Linked DNA regions of Homo sapiens: all the other regions are linked to region 2. Evidence: promoter capture Hi-C in 16 types of primary human blood cells and fetal thymus (Javierre and others, 2016). All regions are on one chromosome and are shown on one strand. Each heading gives the region's core, a stretch centred on a gene start or on the middle of the fragment in contact. The rest is flanking DNA. Distances are from core to core; before and after follow the strand shown. Region 1 holds the start of RBM27 (RNA binding motif protein 27). Region 2 holds the start of FBXO38 (F-box protein 38). Region 3 holds the start of LARS1 (leucyl-tRNA synthetase 1).

What was found. Contacts are between HindIII fragments. The CHiCAGO score rates a contact against its expected background, and 5 or more counts as called.
Region 1: the fragment with the promoter of RBM27 here is called in contact with the fragment with the promoter of FBXO38 in region 2 in 1 of 17 cell types (naive CD8 T cells); the score reaches 5.3 in naive CD8 T cells.
Region 3: the fragment with the promoter of LARS1 here is called in contact with the fragment with the promoter of FBXO38 in region 2 in 3 of 17 cell types (total CD4 T cells, fetal thymus and naive CD4 T cells); the score reaches 7.2 in total CD4 T cells.

Annotation. Positions count from the first base shown.
Region 1 is chr5:146,202,344-146,205,595 of GRCh38, reverse strand. RBM27 (RNA binding motif protein 27) reads right to left here and starts at 1,991. Exons shown (of 21, transcript NM_018989.2): 1 at 1,772-1,991. The coding sequence starts at 1,830. RBM27-POU4F3 (RBM27-POU4F3 readthrough) reads right to left here and starts at 1,991. Exons shown (of 20, transcript NM_001414499.1): 1 at 1,772-1,991. The coding sequence starts at 1,830. RefSeq lists enhancers at 1,776-1,935, 2,406-2,555. The HindIII fragment of the contact is 5,706 bases long and covers 1-3,252 here.
Region 2 is chr5:148,382,112-148,385,504 of GRCh38, reverse strand. FBXO38 (F-box protein 38) reads right to left here and starts at 1,547. Exons shown (of 22, transcript NM_205836.3): 1 at 1,466-1,547. It overlaps FBXO38-DT (FBXO38 divergent transcript), which reads left to right and starts at 1,655. Exons shown (of 5, transcript NR_105057.1): 1 at 1,655-2,006. RefSeq lists an enhancer at 1,571-1,770. The HindIII fragment of the contact is 17,680 bases long and covers 1-3,393 here.
Region 3 is chr5:146,181,063-146,184,400 of GRCh38, reverse strand. It overlaps LARS1 (leucyl-tRNA synthetase 1), which reads left to right and starts at 1,751. Exons shown (of 32, transcript NM_020117.11): 1 at 1,751-1,913. The coding sequence starts at 1,908. RefSeq lists enhancers at 313-1,159, 2,068-2,227. The HindIII fragment of the contact is 6,101 bases long and covers 1-3,338 here.

The sequences.
Region 1 (3,252 bases), core at 742-3,241, 2.2 Mb after region 2:
TAAAAAAACCCCTATTCAAGAGACCTATATTCTTCTACAAAACCTTCAAGTGTGTTCAGTCATTTTCACTGAAAGAGATCAACAGGGAAGTAGCTTGACACTGTCCCCCAGAAGTTCCTTTACCATGCCTCCACACCTCCCAAACTACTCCCTATTTTCACCTCCGAAAAACACTCAAATTTTCCACTAATGCAATCTGACCTAATGAATCAAAGCCTGCCCATCTCTTCTTCTACCCCTTTCTTTCAAGCAGAAAGCTCTAACCTTCAATAAGAGAATAATAAAGCAGAAGCAAGGAGGAGGCAAAACATGATTCTTTCCCTTCCAGTAACTAGCCATACCCCATTCCCCCAAATAAGCACTCCACAACTCTACCCTTTAAAATGGTTATCAAACATGGCCGGGTCCAGTGGCGCACGCCTGTAATCCCAGCACTTTGGGAGGCCAAGGCGAGCGGATCACCTGAAGTCAGGAGTTCGAGACCAGCCTCGCCAACAAGGCGAAACCCCATCTCTACTAAAAATACAAAAATTAGCTGGGCGTGGTGGCGCGCGCCGGTAGTTCCAGCTACTCGGGAGGCTGAGGCAGGAGAATCGCTTGAACCCGGGAGGCGGAGGTTGCAGTGAGCCGAAATCCAGCCACTGCACTCCAGCCTGGGAGACACAGCGAGACATTGTTTCAAAAAAAAAAGGTTATAAAACAAAATGTTGATACATCTGTTACCTCTTTCAAGCCTCCCAATAACATTTCTACTAACACCACCCAAAATATTTTTAAAAGACAGGTCTCTCATTCTTTTCGGTCCCTCATACTACACCCCAATTATCTTCAGGTGTCCTCTCAATCTTACAAAAACATTTACAAAACTGTCCTCTCAATGGCACAAGAATACTTACAAATCTCTTATTCTTTCTACCGCTCCTTTTATTCCTCCAACACCACCTGTATCTAAAAATCCCTACATACTGTTAGGTATACTCCTCCACCAATTAATGCTGCATACCAGTGTAGCCCTTTCAACCTTCAACTAAACTTACAGAAACCTCTTTTTTCCAACCTCTATGTATCTAAAAGTCATCAGTTCCCCTAGCACTATCAAGCCCTCAATAATACTTTAAAATCCCTTAATATCCTTGCTATCACACTTATCACCTCCCCAATAATTTCTAAAACCCTTCAATGCCCACACATCCTTTTCATCTACTCCATAGTATTTTTCAAATCCTTCAATATTCTTGATCCCTCAGAACTTACCAATAATCGCTATACAGTTTCAATGTCCCTGCTATCCGCTTCTGCCCTCATATTTCGAAAATGCCCTCGATATTTTGCTTCTAGACCTTTCAGTCCCGGAATAATAATGTTTATCAAACCCTTGATATTCTGCTATTCCCTTCGACATCTCAATATTCACATTTTAAAAATCCCTCAAGAGCCCCGTTACCTCTCTCTCAGTTCTCAAACAGCAATGTTTTAAATTCCCTCACGGCCCCTGCTACCCCTTCCAGCACCCCGATATTTGCGTTTGAAAAGCCTTCGCTGTCCTTGCCTGCCCCCCCAGTCCCCATATTCACGGCGCCTCTCCGTCCCCAGCGCTCCTCTCCCACCCTCACCCCCACCACAATGGTGATAGTACTACAGGGAAGGCGTCGCCGGGACCTCCCGGCCGCGGCCCCTCAGCGCCGCCCCCCACGCCACCTCCCCTCCCCCACGCCCCCGCGAGCCCCCAACGCCCACGTTCGCCGGCCCCGGCCCAGCCCGGCTCACTCACATCGGCTCCAGTAACTTGGCCAGCCAGGACTTGAGGGCATCCACATCCTCTATGAGCATGGTGCAGGGAAGGCGGGCTCGGCCGCCGCTCTTCTTCAGGCCTGCCGTGGGTCTCCACTACGCCGCCCCCTCACGTTCCCTTCACAGCTCCCGGTGCCCCAGCCCACCGGGCATCTTAGGAGACTTCAACCTACTCCCCCGGCCGGGGCCTAACAGGAACTAACCCAAGAGCCCTCACTCAACCTAGCCCGAAGGCTGAGGTGGGCGGGAGACAGTGCCGAGTGGCAGGCCTGAGAACCAGTAAGAGAGAGGGGGCCCTGAGGGCAAGACCAATGAAAAGGCTCGCTCGCCCCGCCGGCAGGCGGTACCCAGTCAGGGAGGAGAGATATAGCAAGGTAGGTGGAGAGCTTAAGTGAACTCCTGGTGCAAGATGGTATCTTGGAAAAGGTGCTTTGCCTCTTAAAGGGGCAGCGGCGCCTTTTTTTGACCACGCCGCCGCCCGCCGCGGAATACCGGTGTCTGCTGCTGGGAGTGCCTGGGGGAACCCGGCGAGCCCCTCAGCCTGGTTCCTTCCTCTCGTTTTTCTTGGAAACACACACTCGTGTCCCGAAATGACTCAGCTGTAGTAAATCTGCAACACAACGTGCAATACGTTCACGTTCGACACATTGCACAGAATGCAAAATTTTACTTTTTTTCTTTACACACTCATGTTGATTGGCACTCACGTTTGTATTTTCTGCTGCTCTGCTTTAATTACGCAGAATGTTTCTGACAACCATGCCTTGGAATCCAGTAATCGTCATTTTTAAAACGTGGCGCACGGATGTAAAAGGCTGAGGCCATTTCAATTTTGCTAGTACTATTAATAAATGTTGCTTTATTTAGGAAGAAAAATGACTCCAATAGTTTGTTTTTAATTATCTTTTCATTGTATATCTAAAATTCAGTGGTTGGGGGACGGGAAGGGAGAATTTTAATCAGCAAAGAAGGATTACAAAAAAATTTTTAAGACAAATTAGAAACTACTGAAATAGTCAACTTACTTTCTAGTAGGTGAGAAATTCTTTCTGGAGTTTTGAAATCACTGATTTAGCACTGATGTTAAAATGTTTACCCAATAACATATACTGAGTCCCTGCAATTGCCAGCACTGAGTAAGGCACTAGGAGTCCAATGCTGAGCAAAACAGAGCTTCTCCTCTTAAGATGATGAACAGTTTATGGGGTTATGCATTGTAATAACATTTTGAAAAATACCTAATGAGCACGCACCTCATATAAAAGAAATGGATCAACCTCAAATAAACAGACATCCTATATATACATAGAACAGGTATAGGCAAACTTCTGCAAAGGATCAGATACTAAATATTTTGGTTTTGTGAGCCTTGAGGTATCTATGGCAACTACTCGTCATACAATGTCTTGGCTTAAAATTAACCAGGGACAATATGTAAATGGAATGATTGTGGCTGTATTA
Region 2 (3,393 bases), core at 298-2,797:
AGAGGCAGGATGTACCAGTGTGAAGCAGGGATACAGGTCTTCAACTCCTTTTTAATTTTATTTCACTATACCACCTTATTTCATTTTAGTATACCACCAATTTTACTTCACTATATCACCCTATCTTACTGGAATCTAGTTGTCCCTTTTTCTCCTCTGCTATGCATTAGTATCTGTTTGACTAAATATAAAGTGTGTACCTCTGGGCACACAGCCATTTAAACAAAGAGGCACACAAAACTCTACATTCTTTACCCAAGGAGGACATCAGAATTACAGCATCACATATTTTAAAGAGGGGAAAGAAGGCTTACAGATAATCTAAAATGTTAATTCTCAAAATGAAAGTTAAAAATTACAAGCGGATTTTTTTCAGTCTATGCCTATGTAATACATACCCTCCAGACTGGACCTCCTCCTTCCCTGGGAAAATCATGGCTTTATAGAACTATTATTTTATCCTTCACTTGTGCTGGGGGAATGGGAAAGGGGATTAAAAACCAGTGACCTAATCCAACGTCTTCCTTTAGCAGATAAAAAAATCTCAAGTTCAGAGAGAGGAAGGGATTTGGCCAAAGTAAACCATCAAGTTAATAGCAACTTTGGAACAAAAATCAAGGTCTCCTGTTTTTCACTTTGTAGTGATTTACACTGCTGGTTTAGGTGTATAAAACAAAGTTTTCTGGACAGAGCTTCTCATTGCACAGGAACCTTCCTAAGTGACCAGTTGCCCTTGGCCAGCTTGGTGTCTGCAAAGAAACACGGTAGACATCTCTTAGTCAAATTCTGGGTGTGCAGAGTGCAGGGAGAATATGCTTTTCAGGTCTGTAAAGACTCCATGAAAAGGGAGTTAAGAATCTGATTTCCACAGCTAGGGCACGGACATCAAAGGCATCCAACACAGATAAGCAAACTGCAGCACAGAAAAGCTAATGGACCTAGACAAGGTCACACGGTGTGTAGGTGGAAGGGGTGAAACTAGAATTCAGGGCTCCTGATACTCAGGCGTGGCAGCCAAAGATGTGTTCACTGCTTCCTGCTCAGGGACATCTCCTCACTACGCTGAACACAGACCTCCTTCACTTTACTGGCCGAAACACCGACTTAACATTAAAATCATGAAATTCGTGACGCCCGGGGTGGGAGACAGTCACAGAAGCTGTCCAGTCCAACACCCTCACCCATTTCATTGAGGAAACTGGGGCCCAGAGAGAGTTCTTTATGCTGGATTTTGGGGCCAGGTTCAGACAAGCAGGCAACCCCCGCAAGCACGGCCTAGAAGGCCAGGAACTACAAATTCAACCCCTGATCTCTCAAGGAGCTCTAGGCCCCAAGGGGGCCAGAGGCCGAGCTTAAGCGGTCGGAAGTTCCAGAATCCCCACCCAGCTACCTCAGCCCTGCCGCACGCACTCCGGGCTTTGCCACCCCGCTCCCGGTCCCCAGGCCCACTCAGCCGCCGCCTCACCTACGCCGACCCTCCGCCTGTTATTGTGGTTGAGAGGGAGGGACGCTACAGACACTTCCCCGGCCCCTACCGCTGAGGCACTTCCGCTTCCGCCGCCGCTCGCATATTTCCGGAGTGTTGTCATCCGGGGCTGGAGCCTCAAACCCGTGTCCATATTGTGTGTGTGAAGAAGCATCGAAGCGCGGCAGCCATGTTCAGCGTGGCATTTCGGAAGGCTTGTCAGGGGTGGAGAAGCGGGGCGGGTTGCTGTTCTTTCACCTGACACTAAAGCGCCATGCCGGAAGCACTGAGTCTGATACGTCGGAACCAGTCTCCACCGTGTGGTTTGGTCTTGATTTCCACTGGTACTCTGGGGTCTTGGATAAGTCTCTGGACCTCGCCTTTGTCATTTGCGAAGTCGATAGGTTCCAATAGAGATTTTCCCAGAATCATTCAACTAAAAATAGAGAACTTTTTTTTTTTGAGAGGAAGGACGGGGGCGCAGTTAAAGATGTTAATGTTAAGTCATCCCTTCTGTGATTTCGGGACATTATCTTTGCACGTAAGTAATAGTATTTTACAGTCCAAAGGAATTTCACATGAGTGTCATTAAAAACTCTACACGACTCTGACATGTAGGCAAGGATCAACTTAATCACCTTTTCTGTTGTTTAATGGATAAGGAATTGTCTTCAGAGAGTGTAATTGATTTTCACAATGTCTCGCAGATGGACTGAAATTCAGATTTTTACCTTTTACATCCTGTGTTCTTGCCCTAATATACATGTAATTAATATGGGCTAAAATCCCTAGATTTAAATAGATACAAATACTTCTTAGGAAAGTTAGTGTGCATTAAAGCCATGTGAGACACAATTTGACAAGACGTAGCATTGACTAGGCTATTCTGCTGGAGAAGAAAAAGCTGAAGAAGGCTTGGGAATCCCATTTCTTCTTATTCTTTTCTTGATTGATAGCAGACCTACTGGTTTTTCCCCTCTTTCCCCAATATGGTTCGGCACCTTAGGTTTCAGCTTGTCTTAGGCAGTCACAGTTTTAGCTATCCCATTCCGTATGTCAAACCATATATCTGTGTTTTTATTTGGAGCTCTGGTAGGACAAACAAAACAAAACCTCATCATATTCATGTACTATTCATTGTAATCTCAGCTTTCATGTTACATTCTTCCTGTAATTGAAGACAAAAATGAATTTTTATGCTATTTGCTTCTGTCGGTTTCTTCATATTCAAACTTTAATAAAGGAAACAGACTTTAGCTTTTTCTGTTTCCCAGGTTATTCTGAAGAATAAATAGGAATTACGAAAGTTTCTAGTGCAGGGCATGGCATATTTAGAAGGCATTCAGTAAGATTTATTTCAGCACAATTGGCCTGAATTTTTAATTCAATGGAATATGATTTTCATTTTATTAGCATTCCTCCTTTTGTAAAAAGCACTGTAGTGGGACCTGAAATGAATACTCATGAGTAAGAAAGGTTTCCTACCTCAAGTTTAGAAAATTTCCTACCACAAATCATTGTAATAAATGTTAAAGATATTTTCTCACTGCTATGAGTGTTATATATAATAAGATATCAAAACTAGTTTTAACATTTTCAGGTAGAGCATGTTATATGTATCCCTTCATCTCTAGGATTTATTTGTACCTTGATGTTACAGGTTTTCATTAAAAAGGTCCTGAGTTAGTATTTCTCCTGTACAGTGGCACCATCATGGGGTCCCTGAGCGCTGCAGGAAAGTTTGCCCTACAGTAAATGACCTTAAACCGCTGTGTTGTTTTAATTTTCAATCCCCACTTTTTAATTAAATTCTAAAGTATCTCTTTTCATTCTTCCATGAGTTCTAGTATCAGCCCGTGTTCTTCCTTGAAATTCCTTAGGTACCTAAACAACAGATAATCCCTTTGTTAAAATGATGACTAATACTC
Region 3 (3,338 bases), core at 502-3,001, 2.2 Mb after region 2:
TCAGACACCATATATCTCTGTATGGTAGCATAGTCTTTTTTTTGTTTTGTTTTTGAGACGGAGTCTTGCTCTGTCGCCCAGGCTGGAGTGCAGTGCTGCCATCTTGGCTTACTGCAATTTCCACCTCCCGGGTTCAAGTGATTCTCCTGTCTCAGCTTCCCAGCAGCTGGTATTACAGGCGCGTGACACCACGCCTGGCTAATTTTTGTATTTTTAGTAGAGACGGGGTTTCACCATCTTGGCCAGCCTGGTCTCGAACCTCTGACCTCGTGATCCACCTGCCTCGGCCTCCCAAAGTGCTGGGATTACAGGTGTGAGACACCGTACCCGACCAGTCTTTTTTTTTCCCTTGAGATGAAGTCTCGCTCTGCCGCCCAAGATAGAGTGCAGTGGTGCGATCTCGACTCAGTGCACCCTCTGCCTCCTGGGTTCAAGCAATTTTCCTGCCTCAGCCTCCCGAGTAGCCGGGACTACAGGTGCACGCCACCATACCCAGCTAATTTTCGTATTTTTAGTAGAGACGGGGTTTCACCATGTTGGCCAGGCTGGTCTCAAACTCCTGACCTCAGGTCATCCGCCCACCTCGGCATCCCAAAATAATGGGATTATGGCCACCGCCCCTGGCCCTGTTTGGTAGTGGTCTAAATAGTCTGAGTCAGGCAATGGGACCAGGTAGGCTTTCAGTCTCTTGCTTAAAAATGGAGATTGTTGGCCGGGCACGGTGGCTCACGCCTGTAATCCCATCACTTTGGGAGGCTGGGGCGGGCGGATCACGAGTTCAGGAGATCGAGACCATCCTGGCCAATATGGTGAAACCCCGTTTCTACTGAAAATACAAAAATTAGCTGGGCGCGGTGGCGCGCGCCTGTAGTCCCAGCTACTAAGGAGGCTGGGGCAGAAGAATCGCTTGAACCCGGGAGGCGGAGGTTGCAGTGAGCCGAAACCGCGCCACTGCACTCCAGCCTGGAGACAGAACGAAACTCCCTCTCAAAAAAAAAAAAAAAAAAAAAAAAAAAAAAGGAGATTGTTGGCTAGGTACGGTAGCTCACGCCTGTAATCCTAGCACTTTGGGAGGCCGAGGGAGGCAGATCACGAGGTCAGGAAATCGGGATCATCCTGGCTAACAAGGTGAAACCCAGTCTCTACCAAAAATACAAAAAATTAGTCGGTGTGGTGGCGCGCGCCCATAGTCCCAGCTCCTCGGGAGCCTGAGGCAGGAGAATTGCTTGAATCCGGCAGGCCGAGGTTGCACTGAGCCAAGATCGCGCCACTGCACTCCAGCCTGGGCGACAGAGCGATACTGCGTCTCAAAAAAAAAAAAGGAGATTGTCAATACGCGGTTATACAATGTCTAAATGCTGGGCTGTTGAATGCCACTGACAGTAAAAAATATCTGTGCATAGTGGCAAGCCATAAGTAGCACCTCAGTCACCGTATAGTAATTAACTGCGTATCCTGGCATCCCGACAGGCAACCAGCTCTACCGGGTGAAAAGGTTGATGGCCAAGGGACTCCAACCTAACCAGGGCGCACTCGCGGCATTCTGCGATCCCGCACTGCATCATGGACTTTGTAGTTCAACATGCCAGTGACGTCACTGCCGGTTCCCCTCTGAGTGGGCCTATCGGGTAGACTTCCGATAACCCGTTTTTCTCTGGGAATTGTAGTCAGTTAGCGCCTGCTGGGTGTCTGCTCGGGTGGTCTGGGAACTACAATTCCCGGCGGGCTGTGAGATGCCTTGGCTGTAGTTAGTAAGGAGCCGGATGATTGCCTCAGCAGGTGTGAAGCGTGTGCTTTAGTTTCGTGGGAGGCCTGGCATCCCCGAGAGGGAGGGGAAAGGTAACCACTCCTTTGTGGAGGTCGCCAGGGTCATTGTCGTGGATTTGCACAGTCGGCTGGGCGGTGCAATGGCGGTGAGTTTGAGCGAGAAGAATCCGCAGGGGCCCTGGAGCCGGACTGGCCAGTCTCTAGGGGCTCTCCATGTGCTGTCCTGAAGGGAAAGTCCTTTTCTAAAAGAGAGCCACGCTTAAGGCGTGCCTTTCGTAGAGACTTTGCTTTTTCTTGCTAGTTTATGAACCACGAACTGATGTCTGTTAACTTTACGGAGTACTTGGATATCATATTTGTTATTTCTCTGGAGTTTCTAAAATCGAGGTGGAGAGCCGGGCACGGTGGCCCACGGCTGTAATCCCAGCACTTTGGGAGGCCGAGGCGGGTGGATCATTTGAGGTCAGGAGTTCGAGACCACCCTGGCCAACATGGTGAGACCCCGTTTCTACCAAAAATACATAAATTAGCCGGGCGTAGTGGTGCGCGCCTGTTAACCCAGCTACTCGGGAGGCTGAGGCAGGAGAATTGCTTGAACCCGGGAGAGGGAGGCTGCTGTGAGCCAGGATCGCGCCACTGCACTCCAGCCTGGGCGACAGAGTGAGACTCCGTCTTAAAAATAAAATAAATAAATAAACAAACAAATAAAGCCGAGGTGGAGAGAGGAGTATGTAAGTTGATTCCTACTTACAGCAAAAAAAAAAAAAAAAAAAAAAAAAAAAAAAGAAAAAATTGAGCGCCTCTCCGTAAAACAGACAAAAATCTCTCTTTTCATAGTGTTTATGTGTGTGGGTAAAATACATTGTAAAATATTGTGTCAGGTGCTGATAAATGCTGTGGGGAAAAAATAGAGCAGGAAGGGGTGCTAGGGAGTGTACGGTGGGGTAGTACAGTTGCAATTTTTAAAAATTTTTTTAAATTTGGGAGATGTTCTCACTCTGTGACCCAGACTGGAATGCAGTGGCGTGATCATGGCTCACTGCAGCCTGGACCTTAGGGCTCAAGCGATCCTCACACCTCAGCCTCCCCACAGCTGGTACTGCAAGCGTGCTCCATTACACCCTGCTAATTTTTTGTATTTTTAGTAGAGACAGGGTTTCGAACTCCTGGGGTCAAGCGATCCTTCTGTCTCAGCCTCCGAAAGTGCTGGGACTACAGGCATGAGCCATCCCGCCTGGTTTTATTTTTTTTTGTTTTTTGTTTGTTTGTTTGTTTTTTTCTTGAGACGGAGCCTTGCCCTGTCGCCAGGCTGGAGTGCAGCGGCGCGATCTCGGCTCACTGCAACCTCCTCCTCCCAGGTTCAAGCGGTTCCCCTGCCTCAACTTCCCGAGTAGCTGGGACTACAGGCGCGCGCCACCATGCCCAGTTAAATTTTTTGTATTTTAGTAGAGACAGGGTTTCACCACATTGGCCAGGATGGACTCAATTTCCTGACCTCGTGATCTGCCCGCCTCGGCCTCCCAAAGTGCTGGGATTACAGGCGTGAGCCATGGCGCCTGGCCTGTTGCAAT